Linked DNA regions of Homo sapiens: all the other regions are linked to region 3. The links are contacts of gene promoters, found by promoter capture Hi-C in blood cells and fetal thymus (Javierre and others, 2016). All regions are on one chromosome and are shown on one strand. The core of a region is centred on a gene start or on the middle of the fragment in contact, and the rest is flanking DNA. Distances in the headings are between cores, read along the strand shown.

Evidence for each region. Contacts are between HindIII fragments. The CHiCAGO score rates a contact against its expected background, and 5 or more counts as called.
Region 1: a contact is called between the fragment with the promoter of WNT9A here and the fragment with the promoter of H2AC25 in region 3, in 1 of 17 cell types (total B cells). The highest score is 5.0, in total B cells.
Region 2: a fragment that was not itself captured here is called in contact with the fragment with the promoter of H2AC25 in region 3 in 11 of 17 cell types (total CD8 T cells, naive CD8 T cells, naive B cells and 8 more); the score reaches 8.7 in total CD8 T cells.
Region 4: a fragment that was not itself captured here is called in contact with the fragment with the promoter of H2AC25 in region 3 in 2 of 17 cell types (M2 macrophages and neutrophils); the score reaches 10.3 in M2 macrophages.

Annotation. Positions count from the first base shown.
Region 1 is chr1:227,946,640-227,949,360 of GRCh38, forward strand. WNT9A (Wnt family member 9A) reads right to left here and starts at 1,293. Exons shown (of 4, transcript NM_003395.4): 1 at 1,154-1,293. The coding sequence starts at 1,248. It overlaps LOC124904533 (a long non-coding RNA gene), which reads left to right. Exons shown (of 2, transcript XR_007066912.1): 2 at 63-664. RefSeq lists silencers at 115-224, 1,328-1,407 and an enhancer at 1,198-1,247. The HindIII fragment of the contact is 8,120 bases long and covers 1-1,804 here.
Region 2 is chr1:228,122,254-228,125,014 of GRCh38, forward strand. No RefSeq gene overlaps it. Among named protein-coding and RNA genes, the nearest start is that of MRPL55, 14 kb to the left of the region's middle. The HindIII fragment of the contact is 365 bases long and covers 1,159-1,523 here.
Region 3 is chr1:228,456,423-228,459,122 of GRCh38, forward strand. It overlaps H2AC25 (H2A clustered histone 25), which reads right to left and starts at 1,451. Exons shown (of 1, transcript NM_033445.3): 1 at 942-1,451. The coding sequence starts at 1,395. The coding sequence ends at 1,003. H2BC26 (H2B clustered histone 26) reads left to right here and starts at 1,681. Exons shown (of 1, transcript NM_175055.3): 1 at 1,681-2,136. The coding sequence starts at 1,708. The coding sequence ends at 2,088. RefSeq lists enhancers at 1,574-2,160, 2,161-2,700. The HindIII fragment of the contact is 12,626 bases long and covers 1-2,700 here.
Region 4 is chr1:227,991,222-227,994,169 of GRCh38, forward strand. No RefSeq gene overlaps it. Among named protein-coding and RNA genes, the nearest start is that of WNT3A, 14 kb to the right of the region's middle. The HindIII fragment of the contact is 7,402 bases long and covers 1-2,948 here.

The DNA.
Region 1 (2,721 bases), core at 43-2,542, 510 kb before region 3:
AGAGAAAGAAAAACACAAAGGGAAAGTTTCCCATGAAAATATTTTATTTTCTTTGAGAACAGGATACACCTGCAGGGCTCCTCGGCCCAGGCGGCCTCTCCCTGCCCGGGCGGGTGCCAGATTCCTGGACCAACGGGGCCCTCTGCCGGCCAGCCCGCCGCGCGCTGGCGCTCAGGCCAGAGGGCCGGGAACAGGTGACCGGCGGAGGGCGGCGGCCCGGCTGAGGGAGCGGCCCAGGGCGTCCAGGTCGGGGGCTGGGATCCGAAGGCCAGCCAGGGCTCCCAGCGGCGGCGCTCGGGGTAGGAGGCTGGAGGGTGGCGGGGAGGCCCGGGGCGCTGCCTCGCACGGCGCCACCCTGCACCTCAGCGCGCCCAAAGCGCAGCGAGGGTCCCTGTAAAGGTCGCAGGACTGGGCATCCCAGACCTCAGAGAGGGGGAGGGAAGAAGGAAGGGAAAGAAAGGAAGAGAGAGACGCGCCGACAGCCCGGCAAAGCGCTGCTGCAGAGACACGTGAGCACGGGCAATGACACCGCGGGACGCCCCGGCCGGGCCCTGCGCTCCCGGCCAGGTTCCATGGACGCGCTCCCGCGGGCCGGGGCCCGGGCCACAGAGTCAGAAGCAAAGCGCAAGAAAAATAAATTCCTCCAGCTTGGAGGATTTCTCTCTTTCTCTCTCTCTCTCCGTTTGGGGCTCAGCGCGAGGAACATCTGGATTTTGTACGTATTTTTGTTATTGTTAAATTAACTTCTCGAGAAGAGAAAGGGGGGGAAGCTGCTAGGTGGGCGATGGCCAGGGGCTGAGGACTCAGGCTCCAGCCTTTTGGCAAGGACACGGCGGCCCAAGGAAGTCGGGACCTGATCCCAGTCCCTAAGCGCGAGGCAGTCCTGCTCACGGCGGCGACTACGACGACGACGACTCTGCGGTCACGGAGGACCGCGGCCCGGCGCAAGCCGGACGGGTCCACCCGCCTCTCTAGCCGTGCCGCGCAGCGGACGGAGCGACGCGCGCGCCGCAAACAAACAGCGCCAGGCAACCCGGCGGCCCCGCCGCGCCCCGGCCCCAGCCACCCCGGGTGCCTCGGGGACTCCGGACGACCCCGCCCCGGCCCCGCCGCCCCCGCCCACCAGTGCGCGCCGGCCGCCGAAGGCACCTACCCGAAGTAGGCGGCCGAAGGGCGCAGCGCGGCGAGCAGCAGCGTCAGCCCGAAGGCCGCGGCCAGCCAGCGCGCCAGCGGGGACCCATCCAGCATCTTGCCGCGCCTCGGCGGCCGACCATCGCGCTCCCAGCTCCGCGCAGGGCGCGCCGCGGCCGCCGCCCTCTTATAGCGCCCGGAGCGCGGCCAGCTGGGCCCGGCCCCGCCCCGCGCCCGGGAGGGGATCACGCCGGCGCCGGGGGCGGGCCGAAACCCGAGCCGCGCGCGCCAGCCCGCCAGCCCCTCCCGGCCACTCGGGGCCCCGGCCGCCGCTCCCGGCGCGGGTCTCGGGCGCGCCCTGCCCGGCGGGGATGGAGGAAGGGGAGGCGGAGAGCGGTGGGAACCGAGGGCGGGGCGTGCGAGAACCCGGGGCGACCACGGCGGGACGGCATTGGGGGGCCGGAGGCGGGCATCGGGAAGCGGGTAGAGCGTTGGGGGCGCTGCAGTGGGAGCTTGGGGCGGCCCCCGGGGCGGGATTGAGGGGGAGGGGAGGGGAGGCGTTGGCCGCCGGGCTAGCCGCCGGCGGGGCTCCAGGCCGGGACGGTCGGGGATGGTTCCACAGAGGACCCAGCCGTCTGCCCCGAGCTGGGCGCTGCGCGGCTGCTCCGGGGGAAGCTTGGTGAGGAGGAGTCGGGCCAGCCGGTGATGCCTGCGCCTCTTGCGCATGCTGACCCCCTCAAGGAGCGGGGCCAGAGAATCGCTCCTTTCTGGCAGGGACTGTGGCCGCTTTCGGCCTGGGAATGAAGCGACGTAGCCTGCTGGGGCTGTGAGGTGAGTAGCTCTACCTTTTGGGGTCCTGATGGTCTCCCCATTCTTAAATTGTGGGAGTGGAGCTAGCGGCTAAGTCAATGAAACACCAGCCATCGGGCAACGCCCTTCTCAGAGCCTGTGTCCTGGCCGGGACGGGGAGAAAGAGGACTCCTGGGATGGAAGGTGCACACCCAGGCAGCTGGAAGCGCTCAGTCACAGCCCGGGGACTCGTCCCCTCTGCGATACGGATTCGGAGCTGCTTCTGAAGCAGAATGGTGTCAGAGGACCCAGAGCTGGCATTAGGATACAGGTGCACACATTCCAGACAGACCTGGGGGTGGCATCCAGGAGAAGGCTTATAAGTTCCCTGGATGGGGCCTCTGTGCCATGCAACAAGGGACACAAGAACAGGGCTTGGGGTCCAGGCTGGCGGTGGCATGCCTGCCACCTGCAGACCCTGGTCAGTGCAGGATGGTGCCTCCAACACGGGCTAGGCTGCCAAGGCTGAGGACACAGGGCCAGCGAGCCTGCCCAGCCACGTGCTGCAGGGGCCTCAGAGACCTGGGCTGCGGTGCCAGGTCTCTAGGCAGTGCCCTCTGTGCCTGCAGGGACTGATTCTGGCACAGTGACCGCAGAACCTGGGGGGCGGAGCACATGCCCCCGGAAGGCTGTGAAATCCCGCCAGTGGCAGTGACAGAGGCGAATATGAGGGTCCTCAGAGGAAAAACAAAGAAGATAGGAGCAGCAGAAAATGGCCCCCACGAGGATCTGAGCCAACCT
Region 2 (2,761 bases), core at 91-2,590, 330 kb before region 3:
AAACCTAGTCTTTTTGGGGTGTTTATGGAGGCTTCATTACTTAGGCATGATTGACTAAATCACTGGCCATAGGTACTCAGTTTAACCTTCAGTCCCTTTCCCCTCCCCAGACATGGGGAGGTGGGGATGAGGCTGAAAATTCCAATCCTGCCTTGATCTTTTCAGTGACCAGCCCCATTCTGAAGCTACCTAGGGGCTGCCAGCCACCAGCCAACTCATTAGCATACAAAAAATCACTTACTTATAGAGATTTCAAGGACTTCAGGTGTTGTATGCCAGGAAAGACCTTTCACCCTCAAGATTTGCTGAAAATCATCTGACAAAACAGCGATGAATATATATGACACACAAATTTATTAATATGATGGGAGAAAATCTCAGAGTGACTACCCCACCACTGAGTGGGGTACAGATGGTTACTTGCCCTTAAGGGCAAGGGAGATGGGGAAGCATAAATGATTTTAGGAGCTCAGTAAATGATTTTTAGGGGAGTTCAATGGGCTTGAAGAACATACAATGGCCTCCACGAAGTCTGTTGGGCTCAGAGGGTAGACGGTGGTTTGTGACATCTGTCCAGGTGGACTGACTTCAGACTTTCTCCCTGCAATATGAATTCAGTTAATAAAAACTCAGGGAAGGGACCAGAGATAATTGTTTCCTTCTTTAGGCAGATAAGGGAGCTTCAGAGAACAACTTTATCCTGTGCTTTGGGAGAGACAGAGAATTGGGAGACATGAGGTGGGGAAGGTCAGAGAGACCTTGCAGCTTCTTCATTTCTGCATGTCAAAGCGCCATATTTTGGGGATATCTGTTTCTGAGCCCCCAAAATGGAGACAAAGCCTAAATATGTATATTTCACAATATCATACATGCATACCTTTGGTTGCAATCTTTTGCTATTCTCAAATAAAATGTTTTCTTTTAGGAAGCCAGTCTTTCTAAGGCTGACAACCCAAGGGGGTGGCATGGGTTGACTTAAGCCAGGCCTGCACAGTGGTGACCTAAGTCACTGCAGGGGCAAGTGGGGTGGGCCAGTGCAGAGCTGTGACATAAGCAGGTGACTTTCCCTATCAGAACTTTCAGTTAAGTCACTTCCATGGAAGAAGGGGCTCTTCTATGAAGAGCCTCTGTAACAGTACTGACTCCATGTTAGAGGAAAGCTTGCTTGCTTGAATACAATTATTGCTTTGCTTGAGTCTTTAGATTATTCACTAAAAACAGCCTCAGAAAAAGAGGACCTTCAACAGAGATTTTTTAAAATGTGCCAACCAACAGCTCTGGGAATGAATTGGCCGGCCTGACCATACCCACAGAAGGCCACAAAGCATTGACCAAGAAGGCAAGGATTAAATGCCCACCTGAGAATGCCCACGTTTCACAAGAATGTTTTCATTATTCTCCCTAATTTCCCTTAAAAACCCCTGATTTAGAAGCATGACTCAGAAAGGTGATCTTTGAACCCTAGTTCACTGCCTTCCCTGGGTTGCTGGCTTCTTGAATAAAGCTAACTTTCCTTTCACCAAAGCTTGTCTCTTGAGTTTTTGCCTTTCAAGCTACAAGTGGCCCAGACCTGAGTTCAGTTACACCTCTGCTAGCAACAGCCAGCACCACCAATGAACAAACACTGCCTGCAATAAGCCCCTGTGAACAGTAATTTATGTTTCAAAATATCTTACATGCACTTACTCTTTTTTGCCTTCAAAAGCTTCCTCTTGCCCCAACCCCTCAAATATGCTTATGGTCCACAAAAGCACATGCATCCCAGATTGCAATTCCTTGGCTATTAGCAAGTAAACTCTTTGTTTTGAGAACTGGTCTCTCTTGCTCATTTTGATACTGTAGGTAGTTAGGCAGACATGAGCAGGGCAGGAGAGGCCCTCCCCCAAACCAGGAATGTCAGACAATCACCAGGTGATAATCAGGCAGTTGCTAAACTGTTGCTTTAAAATAATTGATTGCAGCTGGTGCCAGGGAAAGCTGTGTCCTAATAGATAGATAACACCTGAAGCTGTTAATCAGCAGCTTCCAAATAAGATCTTAGGAGTTGGGTGAGTGGGGTCAAGCATGAGCACTAAGAGGCAAAATGGCAGAGTTTAACTGGTGTATGACCTTCCTCTAGGAACACTCAACTGGTAAGGGAAGAATGCCTCAGATGAGCATGCATACAACTCCAGTAAACACACTGTGCATGTGGCCCCTCCCAAGTGCTGGCAGGCCACTGAGCATGTAGACCGCCCACCCTAAGGGAAGAATCAGGGGAGAAGAGATGCAAGATCTCAGAAACATGCCAATGTATAAGACCCCAAGTCAAAGGTCAAATCGTGCACTTGAATCTCTCAAGTTGCCCTCATGGTCCTCTTTCGAGTGTACTTTACTTCCTTTCGTTCCTGCTCTAGAACTTTTTAATAATAAACTTTCATTCCTGCTCTAAAATTTGCCTTGGTGTGTCAAGAATTCAGGTTGGTGCAGACCCATACAGATTCACCACTGCTAACAATTTCAGGTTGACACAGAAAGGAGGAGCTTTTCCCAGATCGGCAACCTCTGGAACCATATGCAGTACCCACCTGAGTCCATTGCACTCTCAGCTTCCATGAGTAATCTTTATTCTGTGTGGTTTAGTTCTATCTTGTATTCAAACTCCCTTTTGGTTGAACTCTCTGACTTTATTCAGGATTTGTTTCTATTGACACTGCGTCCTTTCTTGTGTGTTCTGCACTGGAACAGCCTACATGCAAAAGGCCGGGGGAGCTGAGAGGCT
Region 3 (2,700 bases), core at 201-2,700:
ATTATCGTGGATTAAATCAATGAACCTCTCTCCTCCAGGATTTAGGGGCTATTAACACAGCCATTTCAGTTAATTTGCCTGGAGGTCTCCGACGCTCTTAAACCCTCCATTTTATAAGGAAAAATGTAGTTACAAACCGTTATTTTCCTAAAGTCCACATGTATCATCATTCATCTGGTTCTAACAATACTCATTTTAAATTTGCTTAACTCGCAAATTTAGTTTTCCTTTTCAAAAACAGTGTACAAATTATTTTGTTCTCCAATTTTAGCAATCAATTTAAGGGGATCTTTGATTAATGTTTGACCAACCCGAATTAAACAAACTAAATTCCTTTAAATAATTATCCTATTCCAAATTAAGTCTTCTTAAAAGGTTTATACCTTTCAGCATCTACTAATCTGGTTCCTTTTAAGTACTGAAACTTTCCTCATGACCTTTAGAATTCCCAGCCAAATAAATTAAATCTTAACACTGGTGGAGCTCACATTGTTAAAACTTAGCAATTTAAATAGAAATCCATAGACTTACTCTTCAGAATTAAAGTGCAAACTACTTAGAGATCATAAATACTTTTAATATCAGATAAATCATTAAGAAATTGCATTCTGTACTTGATGACCACACGGGAACCTTGCTAGAGTCAAGAGAACTTGTCACTAGTAATTATGAAGACACCTTTACGGTGAGCGTTATTAAAACCCTACTAGAGGTTTTGGGTGGGACTCAAGAGCAAGGGGTGGCCACCTGTGGACGAGGGTTCCCTGTTGTTAACAGAACACGTTGCCCACCTCGCAAGTATGCAGCCCAATCAGTCCCCAGGGTCTCGGTTCCCGTTGCGCCCTTCCCCATGGCCACTGCGCTCATTCATGAGCCTAGGGTGATCAGGCCTCCGGCCTATAAAGAACTGCAGGATCAGTGCGGCTCTTTTCTCGAGATAGTAGGTGGCTCTGAAAAGAGCCTTTATGTCCATCAAAGGGGCCCCGGGGGCGGCGGGCGGCCTCACTTGCCCTTGGCCTTGTGGTGGCTCTCCGTCTTCTTGGGCAGCAGTACGGCCTGGATGTTGGGCAGGACGCCACCCTGCGCGATGGTCACGCGGCCCAGCAGCTTGTTGAGCTCCTCGTCGTTGCGGATGGCCAGCTGCAGGTGGCGCGGGATGATGCGCGTCTTCTTGTTGTCGCGCGCCGCGTTGCCGGCAAGCTCCAGGATCTCGGCAGTCAAGTACTCGAGCACCGCGGCCAGATAGACCGGGGCGCCGGCGCCCACGCGCTCCGAATAGTTGCCCTTGCGGAGCAACCGGTGCACGCGGCCCACGGGGAACTGCAGCCCCGCGCGCGACGAGCGCGACTTAGCCTTGGCGCGCGCCTTGCCACCCTGCTTACCACGACCGGACATTTCCGAGTCAAGGAAAAAAGACAACGGCAACCGAAAAGCGAGACTAAAAACAAGAGGGCAGTGAAGGCCAGCGAGCCCTTATGTATGGTACAGAGGTAGGCTAGACCGCGGCGTTCGATTGGATGGCTATGGTAGCCAATCAGAAAAAGAACCTGGCACTCCTAATTTGCGTATTCCTTTCCCAGCGATGACGTAGAACAACGTTTGATCCAATCAGAAGTGAGCAAATCCTGAGCCTTCATTTGAATACAAAACGTACAAATAGAGTTACTCCGAGCGCCGCGCGTTTCTGTTTGGAGAGACTCAGCCATCATGCCAGACCCGTCCAAATCGGCTCCTGCGCCCAAGAAGGGTTCTAAAAAGGCTGTCACCAAGGCACAGAAGAAGGACGGCAAGAAGCGCAAGCGCGGCCGCAAGGAGAGCTATTCTATCTACGTGTACAAGGTGCTGAAGCAGGTGCACCCCGACACCGGCATCTCGTCCAAGGCCATGGGCATCATGAACTCCTTCGTCAATGACATCTTCGAGCGCATCGCCAGCGAGGCCTCCCGCCTGGCACACTACAACAAGCGCTCCACCATCACGTCCCGCGAAGTGCAGACGGCCGTTCGCCTGCTGCTGCCCGGCGAGCTGGCCAAGCACGCCGTGTCCGAGGGCACCAAGGCTGTCACCAAGTACACCAGCTCCAAGTGAGGCGTTCCTCGGCGTCCTGAACCCAAAGGCTCTTTTCAGAGCCACCCACACGATCAAGAAAGGGTTTCGAACACGGTGAAGGGTTATGTAACCTAATGTGTCTCCATGCACCCTAGCGGTTGCCGGGTGCGGCCGAATCTGAGCCGTGTGTGTGTGTGTGTGTGTGTGTGTGTGCGCGCGCGCGCCGGCACAGAACGAGAAAAACTGCTCGTTACAGAAATCGGGGTAGAAACTGCTCAGGTGATGTAGCTCAGTAATGTTGGGAGGCGATCAAGGACCCCCTCTCCATCCCCTCCCTCCGCGCAGAGCTATTAACTCACGACGAGATTTCTTTTTTTTTTCTTTCTTTCTTTTTTTTTTTTTTTTTTTCTAGAAGAAGTCTCGCTCTGTCTCTAGGCTGGCGTGCAGTGGCGCAATCTGGGCTCACTGCAACCTCCGCCTCCTGGGTTCAAGCGATTCTCCTGCCTCAGCCTTACGAGTAGCTGGGATTACAGGCACGCCCCACCACGCCTGGCTAATTTTTTGTATTTTTAGTAGAGACGGGGTTTCACCATGTTGGCCAGGATAGTCTCGATCTTCTGACCTGGTGATCCATCCGCCTCTGCCTCCCAA
Region 4 (2,948 bases), core at 447-2,946, 460 kb before region 3:
AAAATTAGCTGGGTGTAGTGGCTCATGCCTGTAATCCCAGCTACTTGGGAGGCTGAGGCAGGAGAATAGCTTGTCTCCAGGAGGCAGAGGTTGCAGTGAGCCGAGATCACAGCACTGCACTCCGCCATGGGCAACAGAGCAAGACTCCAACTCAAAAAAAAAAAAAAAAAAAGAGACAGAGAAAACAATTCCAAAAGCTACAGTTATCAAAACAGTATGGTACAGGCATAAAGACAAACATATAGAACAATGAAACAGAATAGAGAGCCCATAAATAAACTCTCATGTACACAGCCAAATGATCTCCAACAAGACTGTCAAATCCATACACTAGAGAAACAATGCACTCTTCGATAAATGGTGTTGGGAAAAATGGAGATGCACATGCAAAAGAATGAAGTTGGACTCTAAGTTTACACCATAAACAAAAATTAACTCAAAATGGATTAGAGACCTAAACTTAAGACCTGAATCTATAAAATTTCAGAAGAAAATGTAGAAAATTTGACATTGGATTTTGCAATGGTTTCTTGAATATGACACCAAAAACACAGGCAACAAAGGCAAAAATAGACAAATGGGACTAGATCAGACTTTAAAACTTCTGCACAGCAAAGGAGACAATCAACAGAGAAGACAACTTACAACATGAAGAATGGGAGAGAATACTTGTAACACATATATTTTGATAAAGATTAATATCAACAATATATCTAAAAACTCTTACAACTCTTCAACAACAAGCACAACCAAATAACTTGACTAAAAAATGGGCAAAGGACTTGAATAGATGATTCTCAAAAGAAGACATACAAATGGCCAATAGGCACATGGAAATATGCTCAACATCCTAATCATAGGGAAATGCACATCGAGACCAATGAGATACCATCTCACACTCCTTAGGATGGCCACTATAAAGAAAACAAAAACAGAAAACATCAAGTGTTGGCAAAGATGTGGAGAAATTGGAACCTTTATGCACTGTTGGTGGGCACGTAAAATGACACAGTTGCTATAGAAAATAGTATGGAGGTTTTCTGCAAGATTAAACATAGAATTACTGAGCCAGGCAGGGTGGCTCACGCCTGTAATCCCAGCACTTTGGGAGGCCGAGGCGGGTGGATCACGAGGTCAGGAGATCGGGACCATCCTGGCTAACACGGTGAAACCCTGTCTCTACTAAAAATACAAAAAATTAGCCGGGCGTGGTGGCGGGCGCCTGTAGTCCCAGCTACTCAGGAGCCTTAGGCAGGAGAATGGCGTGAACCTGGGAGGTGCAGTTTGCAGTGAGCCGAGATTGCGCCATTGCACTCCAGCCTGGGCGACGCAGAGAGACTCCGTCTCAAAACAACAACAAGAAAAAAATACAAAATTAGCTGGGCATGGTGGCGCATTCCTGTAATCCCAGTTACTTGGGAGACTGAGGCAGGAGAATCACTTGGACCTGGGAAGCGGAGGTTGCAGTGAGCCAAAATCATGCTGTTGAGCTCCAGCCTGGACAACAAGAATGAAATGCTATCTCAAAAAATAAACATAAATAAATACATAAATAAATAAAAATAGAATTACCATATTATCCCTCAATCCCACTCTGGGTATAGATCCAGAGAACTGAAAACAGGATTTTGAAGAGATATTTGCACATCCATGTCCATTGCAGCATTAATTACGGTAGCCAAGGGGTGGAAGCAACCTAAATATCAGTTGACATAGGAATGGATACACACATACACACGCACATGATATATAGTATATATACAAATGTGATATGTGATATATACAAATGTGATATATATACACAAATGTGACATATACATATATACAAATGTTGGCTGGGCACAGTGGCTCACGCCTGTAATCCCAACATTTTGGGATGCTGAGTCAGGTGGATCACCTGAGGTCAGGAGTTTGAAACCAGCCTGGCCAACATAGTGAAACCCCCTCTCTACTAAAAATACAAAAGTTAGCTGGGCGTGGTGGCATGTGCCTGTAATCCCAGCTACTTGGGAGGCTGAGGCAGGAGAATCAGGAGAATTGCTTGAACCTGGGACGCAGAGGTTGCAGTGAGCCGAGGTTGCACCGCTGCACTCCAGCCTGGGCGACGGAGTGAGACTCTGTCTCAAAAAAGAAAAAAAAAGTTATATATACGCATATATAAAAATGTGATGTGTGTATATATATATATGTATATATAAATGTAATATATATTATGTATATATATGAATGAGATATATACAGTTGGCCCCTCAACAACATGGATCTGAACTGCATGAGTCACTTACACTCAGATTTTCTTCTGCCTCTGCCACCCCTGAGACACCAAGACCAAGCCCTCTCTTCCTCCTCCTCCTTACTATATTGTAAGAATACAGTATATAATACATATACAAAATATGTGTTAACTGACTGTTTGTGTTATTGGCAAGGCTTCTGTAGTTAAATTTGGGGGAGTCAGAAGTTATACATGGATTTTCAACCATGCAAGGGTTGGCATGCCCTCGGTTAGTATGGTCACTATGAAGAAAACAAAAATAGAAAACAGCAAGTGTTGACTGCAGAATGAAAAGGCACCCTACAAAATGGAAGAAAATACTTGCAAATTATATATCTGCTATGGGATTAATATCCAGAATATATAAATAACTCCTACAACTCAACAACAAAAAACCAATTTAAAAATCAGCAAAGGACTTGAACAGACATTTTTCCAAAGAAGATACATAAATGGCCAATAAGCCACACTGGAGGAGGTTGAAGAGACATGACGGCTAAATGCAATGCATGATTCTGACCAAGACACTCTTTCTTTTTTTTTTTTTTTTTTTCTGAGGTGGAGTCTCGCTCTGTCGCCCGGGCTGGAGTGCAGTGGCGCCATCTCGGCTCACTGCAAGCTCCACCTCCCGGGTTCACGCCATTCTCCTGCCTCAGCCTCCCAAGTAGCTGGG